Linked DNA regions of Homo sapiens: all the other regions are linked to region 1. The links are contacts of gene promoters, found by promoter capture Hi-C in blood cells and fetal thymus (Javierre and others, 2016). All regions are on one chromosome and are shown on one strand. Each heading gives the region's core, a stretch centred on a gene start or on the middle of the fragment in contact. The rest is flanking DNA. Distances are from core to core; before and after follow the strand shown.

The links. Contacts are between HindIII fragments. The CHiCAGO score rates a contact against its expected background, and 5 or more counts as called.
Region 2: a contact is called between a fragment that was not itself captured here and the fragment with the promoter of PRDM5 in region 1, in 2 of 17 cell types (megakaryocytes and erythroblasts). The highest score is 6.4, in megakaryocytes.
Region 3: a fragment that was not itself captured here is called in contact with the fragment with the promoter of PRDM5 in region 1 in 1 of 17 cell types (naive CD8 T cells); the score reaches 5.2 in naive CD8 T cells.
Region 4: a fragment that was not itself captured here is called in contact with the fragment with the promoter of PRDM5 in region 1 in 1 of 17 cell types (naive CD8 T cells); the score reaches 6.6 in naive CD8 T cells.

Annotation. Positions count from the first base shown.
Region 1 is chr4:120,921,368-120,924,115 of GRCh38, reverse strand. PRDM5 (PR/SET domain 5) reads left to right here and starts at 1,390. Exons shown (of 16, transcript NM_018699.4): 1 at 1,390-1,600. The coding sequence starts at 1,508. LOC105377399 (a long non-coding RNA gene) reads right to left here and starts at 1,180. Exons shown (of 2, transcript XR_001741804.2): 1 at 789-1,180. The HindIII fragment of the contact is 4,297 bases long and covers 1-2,748 here.
Region 2 is chr4:120,715,339-120,718,086 of GRCh38, reverse strand. The region is part of intron 14 of PRDM5 (PR/SET domain 5); the gene reads left to right. Among named protein-coding and RNA genes, the nearest start is that of PRDM5, 210 kb to the left of the region's middle. The HindIII fragment of the contact is 1,914 bases long and covers 464-2,377 here.
Region 3 is chr4:121,093,258-121,096,005 of GRCh38, reverse strand. No RefSeq gene overlaps it. Among named protein-coding and RNA genes, the nearest start is that of NDNF, 22 kb to the right of the region's middle. The HindIII fragment of the contact is 2,642 bases long and covers 64-2,705 here.
Region 4 is chr4:121,051,910-121,054,657 of GRCh38, reverse strand. The region is part of intron 1 of NDNF (neuron derived neurotrophic factor); the gene reads left to right. Among named protein-coding and RNA genes, the nearest start is that of NDNF-AS1, 18 kb to the left of the region's middle. The HindIII fragment of the contact is 2,827 bases long and covers 1-2,748 here.

The DNA of each region.
Region 1 (2,748 bases), core at 141-2,640:
CTCCGAATATTGCCACTACATGATTTTTTTTTCCCATAATGCCTTTTGTTCTTGTTTTTTAAACCTTTTTCCAAACTTGAATCAAAATCTACATAGGGGCCGGGTGTGGTAGCTCAAGTGTGTAATCCCAGCACTTCAGGAGGCCAACGCCGCCGGAGGATCCCTTAAGCCCAGGAGTTCAAGATCAACCTGGGAGACATAGCTAGACCCTGTCAAAAAAAAAAAAAAAAAAAAATCTGCTTAGGAACTATGTTCCAAGGGTTTCCTGCAGAAACAGGAATCGTTTCCATGGTGTGTGTGTGTAGTCTGTAATTTTGTCAAACTTTTGTGTGTGCTTTTAATGGTTTATGAGAACATCAATTAAGAACATCAAATGGTTTCCGAGAAAAGACCCTAGAGTAGAAAATTACCATAAATATCAAGAGAAATGAGTAGATGACCCCAGGATCACTTTGAAGGATGAAACAGGCTTTTAAAGGTCCTGGGCACACTGCACAGCCTAACAGCTTATTAAAAACACTAAAACAAGACTTGTGACTTTATTGCATTGTTGTGACACCAGATGCTATTGTTTGGGTGTCCCCTCCTGTCTCCCACAAATCCACTTCCGTATGTCTGAAAATCCGTAATACGTCTAATGATTATCAAGCAAGGGAGGTCTCAGGAATATTGTACCTTGAGAAGTATAAGAACTTCCCAGAGGTTATGTTACCATAAAATATCTAGTTTCTAGTGCTTAAAACATTAAATTGTTTGCAACATATTTTTCCGTACGTTAATCAACATACTTTGCGATCCCTTATTAAGTTCTAGCCTCTGCAACAAACGTGAAAAAAAGCAAAGACGCATAACTCAAATGTGAGAAGCACGGAAATTTCCTAGACCGCAGGGTTCGTTCTCAGTAGTCGGCAATAAGCTGGCTTTCAGAGTCAGGAACTTGATAAAGTTGTTTTGGAGGATGCCCCAGCTGTGTGAAGGTCCATTTCGTTTTGCATCTGAAGAGAAGCAAGCGAGACTCCCCTACAGGGAGTAATGGTTCAGCGGGGCAAGGTTTGAAAACCCAGAGCTGGACAAAGGCGGGAACGCACGCCGCCGCGCCGGGGCTAGGGGTGCTGACGGCCCGCGCAGCTCGCGGGCCTCCGGGTTTGAGGCCCTGGGGTCAGCCCTGCTCCGGGCTTCGCGCCCGGGCGCGGGTCAGAGCCGCCAACTTCGGGCCAATCAGCGAGCGGCGTCCCGGCGCCCGCAGCGCCCAGGCCCGCGCCCCCCGCGCCCCCGCAGCAGGAATGGCAGGAACGGATCCGGGCCGAGCCCGACCCGGGACGAGGAGGGGCTGAGCCGCGGGGGATCCTGGAATCGGCAGGGAGGTGGGGATTCTGGGAGGAAAACTCCATTTCCTCCTTCCCTGCCGGTTTCTCCCCTCTACCCTGGCACCCCAAATTTCGATGTGCCGCCTGCCGGGCGCTAAGCGCCGGTGTTGAGAGAGGCGGCGGCCGCCGCGCCCGGGAAAATGCTGGGCATGTACGTGCCGGACAGGTTCTCCCTGAAGTCCTCCCGGGTTCAGGACGGCATGGGGCTCTACACGGCCCGCAGAGTGCGAAAGGTGGGTGACCCGGCGGCGGCCTGCGCGCCCCTGCACCTCGCGCGCCCTGTGCCTCCCGGAGTCGCCCTGCCGCAGGGCCCGGGGCGCGGCGGGCTTCACCCCGGTCGCCCCTCGCCCGGGCCGGGCCAGGCGTCCGTGGGAAGGCCGGGGACCGCGGGGCACGGCGGGGGTGGCCTTTACTCGCTGCGCCACCCGAGCAGGCAGCGCCACGTAGGTGGCGGCGGGGTGCGCTCCGCTGCCGGCCGGTCCAGGGGCGGAACTGCCACCGGCCTCCCTGCCGCAAGATGTCTTTCCTCTCTCCCGCAGGAAGTGAGCGCGGCGGGAGCCTCCCTCTTCCTCGGTTACGGGTGTGAGCTGCGTCTTTGCGTTGGCGAAGGCACGCGTGGGCGGGTGTTTTCCCCCGCGCGCACGCTGCTCCGCTGTCGCCTCTTTTCCTTTAGGATGAATTAATGTGGCTAGAAACGCCTAACTTTCCATGCGGGGATGGGAGGAGCAGCCCAGAGCGCCGCTCCACGCAGGCCGTAGAATCTCATTCATACGCCCAGGATTTCCTTCCCTCCTTCTGGAATGTATTATATGTGCCTTCAGGGAGGTGCCAACCAGATGATCTTTGAGTGTCTATACCTTTTTTCTCCGCTCTTTTTTTTTTTAATTTGTCTCCAACATCGGTTCGATCTCTCCAGCCAGAAAGTTACAGGCATGTGATGAGAGGAAGCACATTGCTCAGTTCGTACAGGAAGGGCCTGAAAGTGTTGGATGTTGAAAGCAAAGGCCTAGGAAGAGAGGCCACAGGAAAAGTCCAGCTCTTTGGATTTGATCTTATAATATTATAACTTGTTAGAGTCGTCCTAGCCGTCCTCGCCCCCTTTTCTTAGTAGATATTTTGTAAGATGGAGGTTTGGGCAAGAACAGGCTTGTTCAGGTAAGGTATGTTAACAAGAGGTTCAGAGGATGCAGTAGAGACACTAGGGTGCCTTTCATCTGCATATAACCCTCTCCCCTTTGCCTCTGACCTAAAGAGCTGGTGAAGAGTAGTAGAAAGTGCTAGTAATCCCCAAAAAGGGCTCCACTGACAACATGATCTCCAGTCATCCTTCAGGGCAAAATTGGAGAAAATAAACCACTTATTTATTTTTTCAAGTGGGAGT
Region 2 (2,748 bases), core at 171-2,670, 210 kb after region 1:
GAACCTTCTCCTAAGCAAACTCATGATTATATATGTTCAGAAGACCACAGGCTCTGACAGTCCTCGCCATGCTCACTAGTCTTCCTGTTTTCTTTCATTGCCTACAAGTTTCCCTTTCTCAATTTCAGTAGAGTCAGCTATCACGGTCATGAAAGAGAACTATTAAGCATCATTCTATGATTTTGTGACACCTTTACCTTGGCCTCTGACTATAAGAGAAAGAGCTCACTGATTTTATTTTCCATTTTATTTGATTGTGGTCTAATGTAAACCATAGACAGCAACCACAGGAAATCTTTGGATTATGTACCTACTGTATGTGGATCATCCACCTGTGATCCATTCTGGGATGGATCCATCCAGGGATCCGAGGTTGACCCATCCTTATCCTTGGTAGCCTGTCTGATGGGGTCATACCTCTAATCTTTTAGTCAGGAATTCTTAGCTCAACTAAAAGAAAGCTTCTAATCAATTTCTATTTCTAAAGACTTCATGTTCAGAGTCCTCCAAAGTATATCTAAAATTTAACTTTGTTTCTGTAGAACCCTCTCAGATGATGTTGAGATTTATTAATTCAGTTTATCTTATCAAAAAAATGTAACATTTGAAGATACTGTTCTTTTATATAGGTGGGCATTAACTACACAAAATACGACTTTTTATTACCTAGATTACAAGGTGCAGCACATAGAGCTGTGTAAATCCTACCTTTTGAATGAAATCTGCCAAGTATTGTTTGATTAAAGCTAGACTGATGAGACTCCTGATTAATTCTGCCTCTAATAGATTACACAGTTTAACTGACAAATACATTGCCTCCATTTAGTAATGATTCCCAAGTTGTGATGACAAAGGACAAGCTATTTGTCAGTTAAACTATGTAATCATTCAGAAACAGAATTAATCAAGAACCTAATCATTCTTTCTCTACTGAAATTCAGCTAATGAGTTAAAGTGTATAATTTATACTACATATTCCACTCAGGAAGGCTCTAGAGGCAATGAAGTTTTTTTTTTTTTTTTTCACAATGTTCAAAGAAAGGAGCAGGAACAGAAGTCAGTGCCTCTCCAATCTTATCCCCTGTACCACTCAGCCTGTTCTTCTAACTGTGTTGACCATGTTCTGATTGGTATTTCTTTGGCATGGCTTATTAGGGGTAATGAAAAGAAATTAGTAAGGGAGGGTCTATGTGAGGGTTTACTCTCTGAGAAAGAAAATGCGTTTATTTTCTTCTATTTTGGTTTATTTGGTTCTCTTAACTTTAGAGGTGAGTGGCCTATGACCTCTTGGCTCTGCCTCTAGTATAAGAGCCATTTACTAGAGCAAGAATTCTCTAAGACTTGCTTTGATGACATTCACTATAAATTGGAATCCTTTTCCATGGTAGGCATTAGAAGTTCCTTCAAGGAGCACTATAGACAGTCTGACTAGTATCTGCCATGAATTATATATCTTCTTGTGATATCTTCAGGAATAGTGCAGGCTCTGTGTAAGATCTGGGATGAAGAAGAGAGGCATTTGAAGGACAAACACAGCTGCCTGTTGATATACTTAGTTATGACAGAGAGCCTTTCTTGCCAGACTAACATAGAAGTATGCTCGTGGGGCCTTCATGTGCTTCTCTTAGGGCAAAACCCCAAAGACTCCCTGGCTTTAAATGGTTCTAGGTAGAGAAGAGGGAGTCCAGGCAGATTGAAAACTACTTAATCAAATGGATTTCTCTTCAAACTTCTTTAATTGGAAGAACCTTTCTAACACTACACATTTTATCCTTTACTTTTCTGCCAACATGCATATATAAATACATGGTTGTTGTACTTGTAGTATATTGTGAAGGAGAAAATAAGGAAAGGTAATATAATTTCAACGACATTTGTAAGTGAAGTATATTAAATTAATCAGCAATAGCATGTATAAACATGTGAAAAATATCAGTATGTGAGTGGATAATGTGTGTGTGTAAGTATATAAGACATTATTCAGCTAAAGCAATGATTAATACGTGTTTGCATTTTTAAACCTCTTGTGATAACTGCAAAGCCCTCATGCCTCACCAGAATCTCAGTATACTAGCAGGGAGTCAGTCTTTTAAGCATCTGTATGAGCAATGTCTAGGATACTCACCCAGATAGTGTCTCCTAAGAGGAAATTTGGGAAGGAGTAAAAGGGTTGTTCTTAATCTTTGGTGCCCAGGTCTTGATTTTCATTGCCTTTTCTTCCCTGATACCTCTTCTTGCTCTTAGGGTGGCATTTTGACAGTTCTGTCTTAGGATGTTCTCTGCAAAACCCTCACCTGTCATTGGCAGCTGCCATGGTGCCATGCCCATCATGTCTTCACAACTTCTGGTCTTACAAGTAAAGTGTAGGGATTAAGCTTTTTGTTTCTTCTCATATACTTCATAATAATGTCTTTGTATGTTTTTTTAAAATAAAAGTTTAAGTAGAATATTTGGATATAATACAAGCCTTAATAAGAAATCCCAGCAACTTCAAACAAATTCTGATCCAAATACTTAAAACTACCTTTTCATTTTCAAGTTTTTGAAAAACTGTGGAATATTTGAAGAAATATTTGAAGTTGTGAAAAGACATTATGTTTATTCAGACTAGAGGGGAAAGCACATTATATTTTTTGGACTGCAAAGAAAATTGAACATTTTTCCTGATGACTGGGGAAGACTCATTAAACATATTTTTTTACATCTTTAAAATTACACACATAGTTACTTTCATTTCTGGCAACATGG
Region 3 (2,748 bases), core at 135-2,634, 170 kb before region 1:
ATTTTAATGCAATATAAAAGCATTTTAGTTGGAGGCTTCAAACCTCCAACTTAATGACAAGCTTCTTCCACACATTGCCCCACAAGTGTACACTTTCAACAACTGATAAAGGGAAATCAATCAGCCCCCTCTGCAAGCTCTTTGAGGTAATAATTGGAAATATCAAAGAGTATGTATTTCATAAAGCAAGGCTGAGTCATCATGATGCCATTGAAAATACTGTAGTTCTTTTTTCTCTATAAAAGCTGTGGGACATTTTAAAATTAAATTGGAATAGCAGTAATACTTTCTTAAAGTTTTTTCTAAGCTCTCACAATTGACAAAAAAAAATCTTTTTATAAAGTTTTGAGAGTAAATGGTTTGTTTTTTTACATATTTCCTTAGTATTATTTCCTAAGTATATTAACTTAGTAAAAGTTAGCAAGTAAAGGAAGGTTTTCAAAAACTAACATAACAATTTTCTATTCCTCCTTTAAATCATTCAAAAAAAATGAAGTTTCAAACGTTGTTTTGATTTAATATTATATTATGTAGAAATACAAAGGCAGTTCACGCTTTGTAAATTGTATTTAGAAAATTGTGTACTTTGACAAGTCTAGAAGTTCATTTTCCCGTCGTAAAGCTAGACAACTAAATTGGCCTACTAAAGGACTGTGAACCAGTTTGTTATATAAATGAGAACATGTTGTTGATGTTTGACATAAACAGCAGAGGTGCAACTGAAGTCAGCCTGCTCACATAATTAAGTAGTCAATGCAAGACTACGTAAACCCTTGATTCCAGTGTTAGAATGACTGTCTGTGTGTTTCTTTGTTCACCCATCCAACTAGCCCTATATTTATTAATCAATATTTATCGAATGCCGAGTATACTTTTGGAGCAGTCAAGGTTTTCCGTGCCTTTATATTTGTGTGCTGTCAAACCTTTCTAATTTGATTCCCAAATGCTCCATTTTTTAAACATTATAAAAAATTCTTCTGTAACTTCTTTCTGCCTGCTGAAAACAAGGCCAAACTCTTTGGCCTGATATGCATGGCTTTCCTCAATAAAGCTCCAACTTATATTTTGAGATTTATTGGCTATTATTTTACATATCTTCCATTTCATTCAAATCTTATCTACTCACCATTTTCTGCACACCTTCACTTTACTGATATGTTTCCTTTGCTGAAAGTACTCTCGTGCTATACTATGGCCTACACCTCCAAATTCTTCACATATTTCAAGACACATCTCAGTTTTTCACTTCCTTATGCAATTCTACTTCACCCCAATCAGAAACAACCTTTCCAGTCTCTGAGGTACCAGTCACTGCCTTTGACTTATAAGTTTCTTACATTATTTATTACTTTGACCTGAATAGTGGAATTATTTGCTTGTGTTGTTTTTTGTCTCTCTCTCAAACTGAAAGAAGACTGGGATCCTGTAATACTCATCTTTGCATCTCAAAACTCTTATCACACTACCTCCTGTTACCCAACCTGTGACTGGACTATCATCACTACTTCCTTCTCTTTTTCTGGCAAAGGCTAAGGCTTCCATCAGTGCTGTACCTCAAATCTTCCTTCCTACATCCTTAAAAATCTCCTCCCACTGACTATCCTCTTATTCATCATTGGCTTCTGCCCATTAGCGTATTAACATGCTCAAGTCCTTTTTGCCCTAATACAGTCTAGCACCATCTTTCTCGACTCTCTTTAATAGCTAACCTCTTGAAAGTGTTTTCTACACATGCTGTCACCACAGCCACAGCTTTCACTAACTTCTCATCCTTATGTAATCTGCCTTTTACCTCCATGACCTAGGTGAAACTGTTCCCACAAAGGACACCAATGACCTCCTGCTTGCTAAATCCAATGACCGTTTTGGGGTTTTCTTGTTTTTGACACAGGGTCTCATTCTGTCACCCAGGCTGGAATGCAGTGGTGTGATCACAACTCACTGCAGCCTCGACTTCCTGTGCTTAGGTGATCCTCCCACCTTAGCCTCCCAAGTAGCTGGGATTACAGGTGCACACTACCACGCCTAGCCAATTTTTTGTATTTTTAGTAGAGAGGAGGTTTCACCATGTTGCCCAGGCTGGTGTCAAACTCCTGGTCTCAATCTGCCTGCCACCTCGACCTCTCAAAATGCTGGGATTACAGGGGTAAGGCAATACACCTGGCCCACTTCTTAAATCTTTCCTTATTTGGGCTCTCTACATCACCTAACACTATTTATCATTCTTCCCTCTTTAAGTCACTCTCTTCCCTTGAAGCAATTCTCCTGCCTCAGCCTCCCTAATAGCTGGGATTAGAGGCATGGGCCACCACACTCGGCTAATTTTTGTATTTTTAGTAGGGATGGGGTTTCTCCATATTGGCCAGGGTGGTCTGGAACTCCTGGCCTCAAGTGATCTGCCCACCTCAGCCTCCCAGAGTGCTGGGATTACAGTACCATGCTGGGCCTGGTACTTATTCTTACATTTCTTTCTGGATGGCCCATATGCACCCAAGTACAATGTGTCCCAAACCAAACTCATCACATTTCCTCTTTTAACCTAAATTCATTTCCTATTTTTTGTTCCTCATCACATTGAAAGGCAGTACTATTCATCAAGTTTCCCAAGTCAGAAACCAGAGTATCTTCCCTGGATTATCTCTCTCCCTTATGTTACATATTTTAATCAAATACTGAACCCTGCCACTTCTATCATCTACAAAGCTTTTGAATGTGCTCCCTCTGCTCCAATGTCTGTCCCACTGCCCT
Region 4 (2,748 bases), core at 136-2,635, 130 kb before region 1:
TATTTCTCTGCCCAGAATGCTTTTTCTCCTGACATTTATTTGCTTCATTGGCTTCCTCTTGTCATTCAGATGACAGCATAAATGTCATCTCCTCAAGGAAAACTTCTCTAAATACTCAATCTAAAATGCCCATCACCACACTGTCTTTCACAGAAGCCTATTTTAATTTTTAGCATAGCTAGCAGCAATAGTATTTTCTTGTGTATCTGTTTATGTGTTGCCTGTCACTCCCACTAGAACACTCACTTCCTGAGGTCACCACTGTTCCTAGAAGAGTACCTGGCATGTAGCAAAAATGTATTATATAGATATTGAATTAAAAAAATAATGAATGAGTAGAAATGCTGACATTGGACTCTGTTGGCTGGGCAGGTACATTTTGCCCCATAAATAGATTCTAAGTTCCTAAGATACATATTTTTTCAGACCTCACATTACCCAGTTGAGTTTGGAGTATGACATCGATATTTGACAAAACTCTTATTCTCTTCATTTTTTGCTCTTTTGGCCATATTTAGGTTTTGGTATCCTAAGAAATCCATGGAGTGACTTACTGAAGAGTTAACTTCTTGGATAAATGGCTATAAAAAATCAAATTTTTATGGTGCTACACACTGCAGTGACTCAATATTTTTTTATTGACCACAACAATTCATGCCTCACCTTCCAGGCTGATACGTGCTGTTGCTGAATGCTACTGGCGCGCTGCCATGCTCCATCTTAGCTAAATTTCAGTAGAGAATGAGGTATGCAGTTTGTAAACTGCTTTGGGGAATGTTGCACAGGAAGTCATTTTCATTTGGTTGCAGATCAACAGGAAATAAGGCTTAGTTGCCAAACAAAAGCAAGAAAAGCAACCAAGCATATTATTCCTTCCTTTGGGGCTTTCATTATTCTAAGAATCATTAGCATCACCTAAGACAGTGGAAGTTATCCCAGCTATCTCAGTTTCACATATAGAGGACATTTTGATAGGAAGAAGGTATTTAGTATTCTGTTCCAGTTTTTCTTTGCATTCTCCCATACACTGCTTTTGAACTTTGTCATATCTTCTAACCATCCATCTGATACATTTTAAGAGTTCTACTCCTTTCTTTACTAAAATGGGTCTGGCTTCCTGAATTACAGACTACTCCTATCTATGAGACATTTATTTCGGCCAGTTCTGTTATTCATTATTCTTCTCATTGGCATTAATATTGATGGGAATACAAGATTACTTACTTTAAAATCTGATCCTCTTTGAAGTAATTCTGATTGTGTAGGCTTGGCCATCTTTTAAATTAGAATGCCCTAACGTTATCCCTGTTAGGAACTCTGCATCATGAGACTCAGAGGGAGCGCATGACAGAATGGAAACTTTATTCGAATCCTTGGCATGTTTTAATTTCACATTGCTTTTTTATATTAATTTAATTTCCTTCCAGAAGGAAAGTTGGCAGTCATTTAGAGAAGTGCTAAGGGAGGTTGGAATCATTGCAGTTGAAATGCATGTGCAGGTCCCTAATCTGTAGATTATTGACATAATGAACTCTAAAACTCTTAATAATCATGTCACTGTGTACTGACAGCCTGCATTTAGAGAGCTTTAGTGCACGAGTTCTGTACATAATGTCGGCTCTACTTCATTGGGTTGGGTAGAAGTTGGCATGTTATCGCAGAGTGAGAGCTCACCTAGCATGTGCCAGAGACCACTCGTCAGGGCAGACCAGGAATCCTTTACTTCCATCTGCTTTATTTCTCCCTTTTCAGGTATGGAAATGTCAGCCCATAATATGCTGTATTTCCTTCAAATTTTTAACAGATTTGGATTTTTAAGAACAACTAACTTCAGACATTTTCATTGTTTGCAAAAGAAAACAAAATAAAACACCTTTTGGGAATTCAACTTTTGATTGCTGCATTTTTGCCTCGAAGGAATCCGTACATCCACGCTGGCACATGTTGGACATTCAGTATTAAAGTGTGCAGTCCTCTTCGCTTGCTGCCCAGCAAGTCATGGCAGACACACGGCTCTTCCCCTAACTAAAGCTATATATTTTTTTCTTACACCTGGACCAAATGCTTCAGATTTATTATCAAATGTGACATGGATGATTCAAACAAAAACAAATGCTCTTGAGTTTGAAAATAGAAATTTAAAAGACTAAATATTTGCATTTAGAAAGGAAAAGAAAATAACAGAAATCTCTGTGGCAGACCATTCCTTGAAATTATTCTCGCCAAATTATAATCATGCACTTTCCACTCTCTTTAATTAAACATTAGATTTCATTTATTCTCTATACATTTGCTTCAAGTAAATCAGAATGCCCATCCTTTTTTGTCATTGTAAATGTATTTCAACTTCGTGGCCTGCACATGATCAGGCACATTAGATAATTTTTAAGCGAATCTCAGTGATACTATATATTTTTTCAAATTTTATACTTTATGTTATATTTATAGTGATGAATCTGATCTTAAATTTTATAATATGTAAAGTGTGTAAGAGCTTGATGACATTTTTCACAACTACATTTATACATTTCTGCAAAGAACTTGTTGGTGATAGAGGGATGGAGGAATTTGTTTTGATCATATTATCACAGGTAGGTAAAGCTGTTGGCTGCTGTTCTGAGGAAGCTACAGTGATGAGAAAGGTCACAGTGCATTAATTTATATCACGTCTTCTATTTTGAGAGCCTTGGACCTTTACATGAAAGCCCAAAAGAACTTTCTATCTACCAGATTTGCAATTGTTTGAAT